Regions from separate parts of the Homo sapiens genome. Here region 2 is linked to region 1. Evidence: promoter capture Hi-C in 16 types of primary human blood cells and fetal thymus (Javierre and others, 2016). All regions are on one chromosome and are shown on one strand. Each heading gives the region's core, a stretch centred on a gene start or on the middle of the fragment in contact. The rest is flanking DNA. Distances are from core to core; before and after follow the strand shown. Region 1 holds the start of MGAT4A (alpha-1,3-mannosyl-glycoprotein 4-beta-N-acetylglucosaminyltransferase A). Region 2 holds the start of ACTR1B (actin related protein 1B).

Region 1 (6,636 bases), core at 492-2,991:
GAGCAAGTCACTTCTTACATGGATGGTGGCAGGCAAAGAGAGTTTGTGCAGCAAAACTCCCTTTTTTAAAACCATCAGATTTCGTGAGACTTATTCACTATCACGAGAACAGCATGGGAAAGACCCTCCCCCATGATTCAATTACCTCCCACCAGGTTCCTCCCACCACACAGGAATTGTGGGATTTACAATTCAAGATGATATTTGGGTGGGGACACAGCCAAACCGGAAGTAGAGAGAAAACACACTCAAAGTAGAGGGAAGAGCTGTCATTGGATATCATGGCTGTGATCCCCCAAGTTGTGTCCACAGTGCTGGGCAGTGGACAGATCTTTTGGTATGGTTCCCCTAAACTAGTAAGAGACTATGGGAGCAGGGATGTTACGTGTCTCTTCCTGAAGTTTTAAATTAGCCGTCATGGAGAAACCTCAACATGGGAAGGCTGATAACTCCATGCATGTTCTAGCTGATTATTAATTATTCTTATCTTGAGATAAAAATAATGGAATTTATCGGAGGTGGGGAGGGGACCCTGTTCTGATTGATGCCTCTTAAGAGTTTTCGATTATTGAAATTACTGTTTTCTGAAAAGAATCTACTTATTACTTTGGGAGTTTGGCAGGAACAAGGCTGCCTCCTTGATCTTTGGCCCCTCAATTCCCTTACAGGTTACTCGGTAGGATTGCTGTAAGGATTATTGCGGCAATAAAGTTAACACATCCCTTGTTTTTGAACCATTACCAGCTGTGTGACCTTGGGCAAGCCCTTTCACCTCTCAGCTAGTTTCCTCTTATGAAAAATGGGGAATAAATTTAAAACATGAGATATGCAATAAACGATCTAACACCCATGCCTGCTATACGGTTGCCTGCTATACAGTTAAGTATTCAAAAGAGGACGTACCCAGGGGTAGTTACTGTTAGCACAAGTCCTATGGATACTATGAAAAACAGGGACAGACCACCCAGGCTTTCTACAAACGAGTCAGTTTTTTGCCTTTGAAGTTAACCTCTAACCTTGTGAAACGGCGACAGATAAGGACATGGGGTTCAAGAAAACGGGGCATAGTGGAAAATCAGGGGCATTAGCACCCAACGATGTGCGTTGAAACCCTAGTTGTTTTTCTCCTTCCCAGTTGCTGAAATCAGCCCTTCTGGCCGATTCGCGGGGTTCTCACCGGGAAGTTGGGGCTGTCGCGACCGTCCGCGGGGCCTCGGGAGCTCCTGTGGGGCTGGGCCCGGGACCTGTCCCCGGGGAGGCCGCCCAGTTTGGGCGGCCCGGAGCGGGGCGCGCCGCTGGGAAGGGGCCGGGTCGAGGCAGGCAGGCGCCTGGGAGCTGGGGCAGCCCCGGGTGGTCGGGTCGCGCGCCGAGGCGCAGGCCGAGGGCTCGCCCGGGCCTTTGTTGGCCGCCGGAGCGGTCCCTGCACGCGCCGGGAGGATCTCAGCCAGATGTGGCAGCGGGGCGGCGGGGAGCAGGCCGGCGCCCAGAGCTGGGACCCGAGACCGCGGCTCCGCTCCGGACCTCGCCGTGACACCGATGAGCCGGGCCAGCCTCCCGAACGCTCCGCAGGCTGCGTGGCGGCGCCCCTAAGTGACAGTCGCGCGGGCCACTGGTGGGGCGCGGGGCGCGGGGCGCGGGGCCCGCGGGGCCGGCCAATGGCTGGCGGGGTCGGGGCGGCCCGGCGGGGCGGGGCGGGGCGGGCGCTCCAGCGGCGGGGGCGGAGCCGGCGGGGCGGGCGGGGCGGCCCGCAGCGGCGGCGGCAGCGGCGGCGGCGGCTACAGCAGCTCCGCCGGCAGCCGCGGGAGCACGGCGACGCCAGCGGCGGGTGAGGGGCTCGCGGCGGCAGCGGCGGCGCGCGGGGGCGGGAGGGGGCGCGGGGCGGCTGCGCGGAGGGCGCGGGAGTTGGGGGCGGCGCCGGCGGCCGGGCTGGCGGCCCCGGGCTGCGGGAGATCCACCTGCTGGTAAAGGAGCCTACTGCGCCGCGGCCCGGCCGGAGCTCTGTGCGGGGGAGCTGTTGGCGCCTCTGGGCGCGGGGCCGGCTCCGGGAGCGGCTGGGCCTCGGGGGCGGGCGGCGGGGCGCGGGCCGGGCCGTCCTCCCAGCGTCCCTGCCCCGCACCGCGCACCCCTCGGGGTCGCGCGCCCTCTCTGCGGCCGGCTCGGCGCCTGGTGCGTTCCTGGCGCTCCCCGGCGTGGCGGGGCTCGGCGACTTTGGGGGAAAGTGGAGCAAAGTGCTGATCCGGGGGGTGCGGAGGGGGAGGGACAGCTGCCTGTGGGACCCGGGGGCTGCGCGGGAGTCGGCGCTTTCGCGGGGGCCGCGGGGCAGGTGGGCGGGGCCGGACGGTCCGAGGCGCAGGGGCAGGGGCTGCTCCCGAGGGGACCGGCCGTGCAGCCTTCGCAGGGAATTTTCACACAAAGTGAAGGGCTGCGGGGCCCGCGTGAAAGAGCAGCCCCCGTTTCCCCAGGCCTCAGCTCTCTCCGTAATGAGGAAGCTGCAGTAGGACCCTGAGGCTGGGTCTCGGTGACTCCACCAAGTGTGCCAGGTGACATCTCGGAGGCGAGCTTTTCTGAGCTGGCAGTCGAGCCACTTGCACACCCGCCTTTATTCCTCGCAACAGTGTGTTTCTCTGGAGCGGTTTCATTGCCTACATTCCGCATTGGAAAATAGAAGCAGGCACAATGTATGCTTTGAATGCTTTCCACGTATTTTGCTGTTGTGCTTTTGCTGTTGGACAGATTATTTGATAAAAGATAATGACAGTCGTTCGTTGGAACGTAGACTGTAAATTTAGAATAAAAATATGCGTTTTGTGGTTTATGTTTCTTTTTCTGAATGTTTAAAAAACAGTTTGATGAACAGGTTATCTTGACATAGATTTCTTTAACCCACACGTGTAAACCCGAAAACGCACTGGGCGATGACATTACGTAAGCTGTATTAAAGAAAACTACTGACCCGTTTATAAATGGCAAATAAATGAATTTTGCCACAATTGTGGTGTGTAAAGTTATATAGGCTTACGTCATGGATTTTATTGATTCCAGATATCAGGGATTATTGTGCCTTTCATTCTTAAGTCACCTCTACCCTGTCTGTGGGATGCTGATTAAGGAAGATGCCAAACGTTCGGCAAAGTGTTCTCAGCCGTGGACTATATTGAGTATTTCAGAGAACACTTTAAAATAAGTAAAGGTTTTGTATCCAATAATAAAATGAAGACTGAAGCCCTTAAAGGATTGCTAACAAAACAGTCTGATGTCTAGAGTTGAAAGTTCCATTCACCTTTGGGAGGGTGGAGAAATGACTAGCAATTTTAGCCACTACCTTTTTTTGTTGTTGTTAAAGATTCAAACGTGTTAGATTATAGTCTCCGAGAATATTAAGGGGCTAGATTAAAATTTTTGCAAATGTGGACACTAATAAAAATGTGGGTCACCTGTGTCTTACAAGCCAGCCTGTGAATTATGTCTCATAATTGAAGAGTGAGTAGATCCTTGGTTTTACTCTTGTCCGAAGAGTTTCTTCACTTGTGCCGTGCAGTTAAACTTATTAGCTGGGAAACCCTAATTAAAAATGTATGACTACATTCTTACTGAGTAAAACACGCATATTTTTCTTGCAAAATTTCAGGGCTTATTTGCTAGTAGAATTTATTGTAAGTATCTTCAGAGTTTCATAACTTACTGGATCCAGTATTTTTTTTTTTTCATATATTAGGGGTAGTATATCAATAGTTTACTTTGGTTTTAGAGTTCATTTACTTGTCTCTATGCATTTCTACGGAATGTTTTTACAAGCTTTATTTGTATTTAGTAAAACTTTTAAAATATCCTTAACTATATGATGTGCGCTCTACCTCCCCGTTATTATGAATTGAGTGCTTACTCTAATAACCTGTATGCTTTTTAGATCTTTTACTAGAACAAAATTCTTTCTCAAGTAAAATAGGGCTAAGTAGATAGCAGCTGAAAGTTATAAGTATTTTAATATAATGCCACACCGGGATTAATGTTCCAAGTTATATAATTCATAGAATTATCACCCGTGTTTTTATAATCAGAATTCATTATTGGGTGCTTATTGATTTAAGACAATTAGAGCAGTCTTGCTATGAAGTTTTTTTTTTTTTTCAAACTGAGTCTCTGTCACCCAGGCTGGAGTGCAGTGGTGTGATCTCGGCTCACTGCAACCTCTGCCTCCCAGGTTCAAGTAATTCTCCTGCCTCAGCCTCCCGAGTAAGCTGGGATTACAGGCACCTGCCACCACTCCTGGCTAATTTTTGTATTTTTAATAGAGACAGGGTTTCGTCATGTTGGCCAGGCTGGCCTTGAACTCCTGACCTCGGGTAATCTGCCTGCCTCAGCCTCCCAAAGTGCTAGGATTACAGGCATGAGCCACCACACCTGGCCACTGTGAAGATTTTAATTCTAAACTGTAGACGTGGGCATGTTTGATGTTAACTTGTCTTAACTGTAGAAGGTGAATAAGTTCAATCTTAGAGAACAATGATAACTTCTGCATGAGAATATTTTTAGATCTCTTTGTGTTCAGGTAGTAAAAGAGGTTAGGTGCTTCTAGAATATTATGTGGAAGGTAGAGCTGCTGTCTGAGGGTTAACAGGCATAGTTTGGTGGAGGGTTGTGGTGAGGTATTAGCCAAAAGCTACAGGAAGTGGAGATTTGTTTAAAGTTGTATAAACATACACTTTGAAAATTTCCATGAATTTTGCAACTTACTCCTTAGTAGATCAGTGTGTGTTATATAATTTATTTTTTTAATTTACACTTACAGTTGGGTATAATTCTGCAGTTTTACCTGATACTTGGAGTATCCCTGGAACTTCTCTTCATATTGCCAGGTGCAGGAGGCCTCATTTGAGAGGGAAAGTGTAGCAGCTAAGAGCTTGGACTTTGGAGACAAACAAATTCGAGTTCTTTCTCTGGATTCATTTCCTTGTGTGTAGAACAGGGTTAATAATGCCTGCCTCATAGGAACGATTTTGTGAAGATTTAAACCATGTGGTGGATCAGGCACATAGGAAACATTTCATAAGTTGTAGTGGCTGTCATTATTAGTACTATGCCCCTGTGATCTTTCTTTACTAGGGGGAATTTCTAGTAGTGTTCAGTGTTAAGAAGCAGTGGTGGTGGCAATTTCTGAATTGCCTGCAAATGGCTGCTTGAATCGGTTGTGCTCTTCCCCAGAGAGAATTTTCCCTTGGAACTGCTGGCCATTTTTCGAGGTATATTAACTCCCCCACTACAGTGTCAGTATATTACCAGGTGCATCCTGTGGCACCTCCTGAGGCTACCAGGAATCTGTTCACATCTTGGAGGGCCTGGCGTGCCTCCAGGGATTGAGACTGACCATGCATAGAGTGGACTGGAACCAGTAGCTGGCTGGTTTTGTTGTTGTTCAATTAACCAAAAAAGTTTGGTTTTTAGTACAGTTGACATTTTTTGAGAACCTATTATATGCTGAATGCTGTGCTTAAGTACTTCTAAGACTTCATTTCTTTCCCTTTTCCCAACAGCTTTGTTCGATCAGTGGTGATTTCCCAGATTTCTTGATTTAAAGCAATGCAGAGTGATAGAGCCTAAGGTGTACAGTATCCTGGCTGGATTGCTGCATTTTCTAAATGCTTAAATAGTTCCAGTTTACACCCTGGGAGTGGGTTAGTCACTGGAAAAACGACATTTATTTTATGACAGTGATAAACAGCAGTTATAACTGTAACCTTTTAATAATTTATGACAATATGTGAAAGAGGACACAGGACAGATTGTTACCTCATTTTGTGAATGAAACCTTGAGACCTAGATAAGTGGCATGCCCCAAATCATGTAAGTAATGACAGAGCTGGGTCAAGGGTCCAGGTCTTTTGACCCTTATATATTGTATTCTGTCAATTTTCTTATTAAAAAAATTTCCTATTATTGTGCAATAGGAAAACTGGAGAGAGTGAAGATTATGTTACTCAGGAACCATTGTGTGATCATTAGAGTTCTCATCTTGGAATCTGTGAGCTCCACTTTTCCCTTTAAAATCAGTCACCATAACTTTCTTTTTACAGACAAAACAAAACCAATGAGGAGGGAATATAGTTTGAAGCTGTTTTGTATTTTTTTCCAGGAGGAGAAGGACCATATAATTCCAGTATGTTAAATGAGTAGTTTCGATGTAGGGATAATCTTTATAGATGCAATTTAGCCCTGCCAAAAGTCTGTTTATAATGATGAATAGTAAATGAAGAAACTTACATTTTGCATTACCGAATGAGCTTGACTTTCTCTTTTCCCCTGAATAGGAAGGGAAAAGGCCGAGGCATCAGCGTGTGAAGACCGCAAAGACGATCCCGAGTACAGTTGTGAACAGCATTGCTGCTAGGCTCCTCCTGCAGATCATCTGAAATGAACCTCTCTTATTGATTTTTATTGGCCTAGAGCCAGGAGTACTGCATTCAGTTGACTTTCAGGGTAAAAAGAAAACAGTCCTGGTTGTTGTCATCATAAACATATGGACCAGTGTGATGGTGAAATGAGATGAGGCTCCGCAATGGAACTGTAGCCACTGCTTTAGCATTTATCACTTCCTTCCTTACTTTGTCTTGGTATACTACATGGCAAAATGGGAAAGGT
Region 2 (6,606 bases), core at 4,056-6,555, 1.1 Mb after region 1:
TTGTTTCTTGAACTCGGTGGTTATGCAAGTGTGTCCACATTTTAATCATTCATTGAAATGTACATGTACACTTGTGATTTCTGCACACCCGCTTCAATTTTACAAATTTTATGCTCACAACCCATTGGGAGAGGTATATATACAGGGAAATAACTATGGATCCGTTTGGTAAACAAATGTAGAACTCAACTATCCTGCACTCTTGAAGCAGCTGACTCCAGTGCCGCAGGGGGCTACCTGCATGCCAATTCCACACCCAATAATCTTGGGCAGGTTACCAAAGTGTGAAGACCCTGACTGAAAAATGGGAGTAATAATACAACTACCTGATATTGTTGCAAGGATTTAATATAACTTATGTAAAGTGGGCAGAAGTGCTCCGCAGGCACAGAGCAGGTGCTCAATAAATGCCAGGACCAAAATACCACGAAACTGTAATTTTTATAAGGAAAAGGATCTTTTCTTCAGTGCTCAACGAGGAAATATTATGGGGCCGTGCGCAATAGCTGACGCCTGTAATCCCAACGCTTTGGAAAGACTAAGCGGGAGGATCGCTTAAGCTCAGGAGTTCGAGGCTAGCCCGGGGAACATAGCGAGATCCCTTCTCTACAAAAAAAATTTTTTTTAATTAGCTAGCGTTGCGCGGTGGCCGTATGGTGGCCAATGAGGTTTATCCGAAGCGCGATTATTGCTAATTGAAAACTTTTCGCAATACCCCACCGTGACGACTTGCAATATAGTCGACATCGGCAATTTTTAACAGTCTCTACGGAGACTATTTCAGTAAAAATAAATAAATATGGTGCGCGCCTGTAGTCCCCCCTACTGGCTGGCGCGGGAGGATCGCTTGAGCCCAAGATTTCCAGCCTGAGCGACAGAGCAAGACACCTTACCTAGAAAAAAAGAAAAAATAAATATTTTGGGTGAAATATCCAGGGCCGGCCTCCTTGGAGAGGGCGCTCTCACGAAGGAGCGTGGCCCGAGGTGCTGGGACGCGGGAAAGACGTCTTTCTGGACCGGTGCTGGGACGCGGGAAAGACGTCTTCCTGGACCGGTGAATTTCCAGCTCCACAGACTCCGGCCGCGCGCACACCAGCCCAGCTCCACTTTCTGCCGCCCGCGTCCCCTTTAAGACGGAGCCATGACATCATCCCAGACACTGCGCAGCCTACCTTGGCAACGCCGCGACCACTTTTTTCCGGACGACCTCAATTGGCTGGCCAGCCTCCGGAGGCCCCGCCCCCTTCGCGCAGCCAGCCCCGGGCACCTGCTGTCAATCGGGCCAGGTGGGAGCGATGATTGGCCGCCGGGCCCGCCCTCCAGAAAGCCCCGCGGGGCTCGCGTAGGCTGCAGGCTCGGGGAGGGAGGGCAGCGGCGCCGCGTCGGGAGCCGCCGCCGTCCCGGTCCTCCCGCCCGCCCGCCCATCCGGTGCCTCCTGCAGCCCGCCTGCTGGGCAGGGCCGGCGCGGCCCGGCCATGGAGTCCTACGACATCATCGCCAACCAGCCTGTGGTCATCGACAACGTGAGGCCCGGCAGCCAGGGGGAGGGCGGGCGCCCCGCCCCCGGGGGCGCACGCGGCGGCGCAGGGAGAGACCCCCGCCCGCCTCGGCGCGTCCTCCGCTCACTGCGTGGCCGTCGCCCCCGCCGGGCCGCTGGCTTCGCCCCGGGGGCGCGCGCCCTCTTGGCCTTGTAAGGCCGGCCATGGGGCGAGCCCCCTCGCCCGCGTCGCAGAGCCTCTTCCCCGACCCCTCCCCGAGTCGGGCGGGGAAGTTCAGGAGAGCTTGAGTGACAGCCGGGCGGCCGGGCGGGGACGCGCCCCGGACTCTTCTCAGTTGAGAGTGCGGTTCCTGGGCAGGTTTCCACACCAGTTCCTTTCCGCGTCCTTCGGCCCTGGCTCTGGCTGCCTGGCGGAGGTGGGGTAGCATTTGTCATTTGCACACTGCTGGCTTTATCTTTGGGGCTGCACCCCGAGGCAACAAATGCAGGATGCTCTGTCACCCACATGTCCACCACCATCTGGTTTGCCTTTTGGCTACTTTGACTTTCTCCTTAAATGCTTCCTGTGCTGAGCAAACATTCCACAGCCAGCAGAGCAATGGAGAGTTCATGGCCACTCTTCCCAGTATCAGCAAGCAATTTGGGGTGATCGTTTGGAAGCCTCAGAGGAAAGATGTCATCAGGCTTCCTGTGGCTTTGTCCTTCAGCAGTGGGGCTCGGCTTGCTTTCACCTGCCTTAGGAAGATTTCTGGCTTCCGAGCTCTGATATGGGGAGAAGATAAGGGCTGGGATCTTTGAGTCTGCCCCTAGCTGGGTATGTGCGTCCGGTGTGCGGGCCTTGGAGTTTTTGGTAATGACTCACTTGTGCTCTTTCTGGGATCTGTCTCCCTCCCACATGACCCCGTGGGGTCCCTGAATGACTGTTTTAGAGTACCCATGTGGGTTCCCTGAGTCACAGCAGGGGATGTTTAATAAGGAGGTTAGCACTGAGCTTGGGGACGTGCTGTCACACCAGCAGGACGCTGCAGGAAGGAGCAGGCTACTTCCTTTCTTGACGTGCAAATAACTCGTATAGGCTAATCAACAGGCTTATAAGTTAAAAGGGCTACCGCTCGGCCCCTTGGGGATTCCATCCCCTCCTCTGTAACTTGGAGATGTTTGTTTCTGCTGCAGACTCAGAGGGTTGCGATGAAGAGTGGTGGGACTGAGTTGAGAAGCTTATCCCTTCGCTGGGTGGGAGGTTTCTAATTGCCCCGTTCTTTGGGGGATCCTTAAGTCCAGCTTCCAGGTGGGGGCAGCGATAGGACCAAGTTCTCCTAGTAGTCTCTGGGAAGCCACTTGAGGGAAGCTGCCGGTCATCCCATGCACCCATTGGTCTTCTCCAGCAGGCCCTGTAGGTCGTCCATGTTCCATGCCTTCTGGGTTCTTGGGGGAGAAGGAAGCTGTTGAAAAAAAAAAAAAAAGACCCACACAGAGGGGTTTCTTCTAGCTTTTGGGAGTAGCATGTGCTATGGAATCCTGCTGGAGCCAACCATTAGTTGTGCAGAGGAAGGTGCCCTTCGTGGTTTCTCTATCTCTATATTATTGACATTCTGGGCTAGCTCCTTGTTGGTAGTGCAGGCTCGCCTGTGCATCGTAGGATGTTGAGCAGCATCCTTGGCCTCTGCCCACTAGATGCCAATAGCATCCCCCACTGCATGTCCCCTCTCCCCAGCTGCCAGACATTGCCAAATGTTGCCAGAGCAGGGGGATACAAAATTGCCCCCAATCTTGAACCATAGGTGTACTTGTAAATGATCCTGGCAGGGTCCCTGGCTTCCTCCTTGGCCTGCCTTGACGGGGCAGCCAGCTCTCTCCATTGCGGGGGACTGGCTTCATCTGGTGGTGCATGTGGGCAGCTCAACTTTGTTTTTCCTTGCAGGGTTCGGGGGTGATTAAAGCTGGCTTTGCAGGAGACCAGATTCCCAAATACTGTTTCCCAAACTAGTAAGTGTGGCTCAGGCAGCAGCCTTAGTCCTTTTGTTTACCTTCTGTAAGAACATTGGCCTTCTGTCACAGGGCTCTTTGAAGACAATTTGTGCCCTGACCTGTATGGAAAACACCAAATTTGTGAGGTTGACACTCTTGAGAGAGCACTGAAAGAACAAGACAAGCGTTCTAGGGTTCCCCTTTGTCTTGGGAGTCTCTCGTTTTGGTCTTGTTGAGCCAGCAAGGAGGAAAAGCAACCAGCATTTCCCTGGGGATGGGGTGTGGTAGCAGCAGCAAGAATAAAGGGAGACATCTCCGAGGGGAGCCCTAAACTCGGAGCAGGAAGAGTGAGGAATTAGATGCACAGCCACCCTTTCCTCCCTGGAAGTGTTTTCTGCCGGGCTTGTTTTCAGACTCTAGAAAATGTCTTGTTTCAGTTAAGAGGGGATCCTTTGCCCTGTATGGTACTGGTGGGGGCGGGAATAAGAATTGCAAACCCAGAGAGCCTGGGGTGCCCCTTGCACCCACCACGAGCCCATTGGGAAAGTTGCCCTTAGGGGCACCTCTTCACAAATCCTGGAGGCTTTGGAATGAGTGGCCTAAAGGCAGCGGGCAGCAGGGGATCCTAGGCCCCGAGTGGCAGGCTAGCCCGAGCCCGGCCTGGTCTGGGACAGAGCTAGCATGGTGCGCCCTGTCGAGCTTCAGCATTCCTTTCTGACTGCATGGGTATAATTAGAGGTTCCTTTGCCTTTAGTGGTAGCTCATCAGATCCTATAGTTTCCAAGAACTGAATCTCTGATCCAGAAGCGCTGGCAGTGGGGTAGGGCGCTTGACTGAGTGAGAGCAGGGTGCACAAGGGAGCCCCGACCCAGCTTCCTGGGGTTGTCCTCCCTCAGTCTGTGGATGGTGACGGCAGCCCTGCCCCACCGAAGTCAGGAGCGTGGGCTGAGTCACTGTGGCTGCAGGAAGCCGACCCTCTGCAAGGGCTGGGCCATGGAGGGCTGGGTTCTGGCGCTCAGACATGCAGCTGTCTCTGCTGACCGTGCCTTCTGACCCTGAGCTTCTCGTCCTGCCTAGGCCCCCTCTCTAGCCCCGAACCCCATAGGCCCCAGTTCCAACCTGTGCCCCCCAGCCACATCCTGGTGTTTGGAGGCCAGGTACCCTCTGGGCGACTATGGTTGGATTTCGGTTTTTCTGGACACAAGCTCTGCCATGCTCCCTGCCCACCTTGCTGACGTTATCCGTCCTAACAGTGTCGGGCGGCCGAAGCACATGCGGGTGATGGCTGGAGCCCTGGAGGGGGACCTCTTCATCGGACCAAAAGCAGAGGTAACACCGAGGAGCCTGCCTTTCCCTGGGGGTGGGGTCCTCAGTTGCAGGAACATGGCATGTGTTCTTGGGCCTCTGCTGGTGACCTCCCGGGTACCTCCTCCAGGCTCCAGCTGGGAAGTGCTGTGCAGGGGCACCTCCCCCTGAGATGGGGCAGCAGTTCCTCTTCTAGGGAGCATGGGTAGAGCTCATCGTGTCCTGTCTTTTAGAAGCTATTTGGAAGCTACAGAACCAAGAACTGATCAAAAAGTGATATAAGAGTCAGAATCACACACACTTCACGTCTGCTCTAATGAGGGCCATGGGGCCGCCTCTCACAGTGAAGCCGGAGTGTCCCACCAAGGGGCTGCATGGCCTGATCAGACCCTCAGGAGAGCATGTGTGGGTGTGGGGAGAGCAGCAAGCTGAGCTTGGCCAAGGGCAGTTTAGGCGCCTGAGGAGCATTGTGTCGGGTGCCGGGGCGTGGGGCATGCGTGGTTCTGGGCCCAGAAAGGGGAGGCCTGAGCTGGAGGTGCAGAGGGTGGGGGTCTCGCAGATGGGGTCCGTAGGAGCCGAGGTGGTGAGAGGAGCTAAGTGGTGCTAGGTGAGAAGGGGCATGGCTGGGGGGACATCGAAGGGCAGGTGGAGGCAGCATGTCAGTGCAAACAGGGGACTGGTGAGGACCGGCCAAAGGGCTGGGGGGAGAGGCGTAGGTCAGGGGGCACAGGTGGCCCAGGAGGGGCCGTGTTGGGCGGCTGCAAGGTGCCGGCGCTGGCCAGAGGGGAGCTGGCAGAGTGTGAGGAGAATGTGGGGGATGTGCCGGCAGTGAGAATGGGGAAGAAGAGAGCCTGCAGATTGCGGGGCACACTGCCACCCTCTCTGATCCCCCCAGCTGAAGCTAGCTGGGCTCTAAGAGCCTAAGAAGCTGGTGGGCAGGTGAGCCCATGCTGAGTTCAGGACCCGCCACAGACCCTGGGACACCCAGTGAGCAGGGGTGGTTCTGGTCAGGGCAGGTGAGGTTCTGGTCAGGGCAGGTGAGGGTCAGCTTCCAGGAGGGCGGAAAGCAGCCGCTGAGCAAGGGCCGGGTGCCACACCTCCCTTCCCACCCCACCAGGAGCACCGGGGGCTGCTGACCATCCGCTACCCCATGGAGCACGGCGTGGTGCGAGACTGGAACGACATGGAACGCATCTGGCAGTACGTCTACTCCAAGGATCAGCTGCAGACCTTCTCGGAGGAGGTGTGGCGGCTGCCCCTCCTGCATGCTCTGCATTCTCCTGGCCATGCCCCTCTCCTCTGCGTCCCTCCTCGCCGGGCTCCCACATTTCCCTTCTACATTTCTAGAGGGCCTGCTGCCTTTCCGTGTGTGTCTGGGTGCGCATACGTACCCAGTGGCTGCTAGGCAGAATCTTCCAAAGAGAGCCGGATCTCCGGAAGAGTAACTGCCAGCAGATAAAGGGATGGGGCCCTCAGGAGGGGTAGGAGGCTGAGCTGCCTGTGCGCCAGCGGGTGTGGTTCTCTGGAAAGAGCCTTTTAGGGCCTTGCAAGTTGCCTCCTCTGATGCCTACAACTGTCCCGTCCCTCGCAGCATCCTGTGCTCCTCACGGAGGCCCCGCTCAACCCGAGTAAGAACCGGGAGAAGGCGGCAGAGGTGTTCTTTGAGACCTTCAACGTGCCGGCCCTGTTCATCTCCATGCAGGCTGTGCTCAGTCTGTGAGTGCTCCCTAAGCCTGGCCTCCCTGAGTCCTGTCCTCCCTGTGCCGTCCTGCTTGCCATGACCAGGGTCTGACTTCCCTGGAAAAACAGCCCCTTGATGACTGTTCCTCTAGGGA

Evidence for each region. Contacts are between HindIII fragments. The CHiCAGO score rates a contact against its expected background, and 5 or more counts as called.
Region 2: a fragment that was not itself captured here is called in contact with the fragment with the promoter of MGAT4A in region 1 in 1 of 17 cell types (fetal thymus); the score reaches 5.5 in fetal thymus.

The regions. Positions count from the first base shown.
Region 1 is chr2:98,726,237-98,732,872 of GRCh38, reverse strand. It overlaps MGAT4A (alpha-1,3-mannosyl-glycoprotein 4-beta-N-acetylglucosaminyltransferase A), which reads left to right and starts at 1,741. Exons shown (of 16, transcript NM_012214.3): 1 at 1,741-1,825; 2 at 6,306-6,634. The coding sequence starts at 6,541. LOC107985922 (a long non-coding RNA gene) reads right to left here and starts at 1,592. Exons shown (of 2, transcript XR_007087150.1): 1 at 1,178-1,592. RefSeq lists silencers at 793-1,087, 1,194-1,383, 1,404-1,733. The HindIII fragment of the contact is 4,047 bases long and covers 1-3,797 here.
Region 2 is chr2:97,658,760-97,665,365 of GRCh38, reverse strand. ACTR1B (actin related protein 1B) reads left to right here and starts at 1,322. Exons shown (of 11, transcript NM_005735.4): 1 at 1,322-1,523; 2 at 3,420-3,484; 3 at 4,720-4,795; 4 at 5,889-6,014; 5 at 6,363-6,487. The coding sequence starts at 1,476. It overlaps LOC124900516 (U4 spliceosomal RNA), which reads left to right and starts at 635; the gene lies at 635-775. It also overlaps a transcript of C2orf92 not described here and the pseudogene RNU4-8P. RefSeq lists enhancers at 804-1,143, 2,184-2,253, 2,219-2,860 and silencers at 1,224-1,683, 1,764-1,823. The HindIII fragment of the contact is 5,176 bases long and covers 2,718-6,606 here.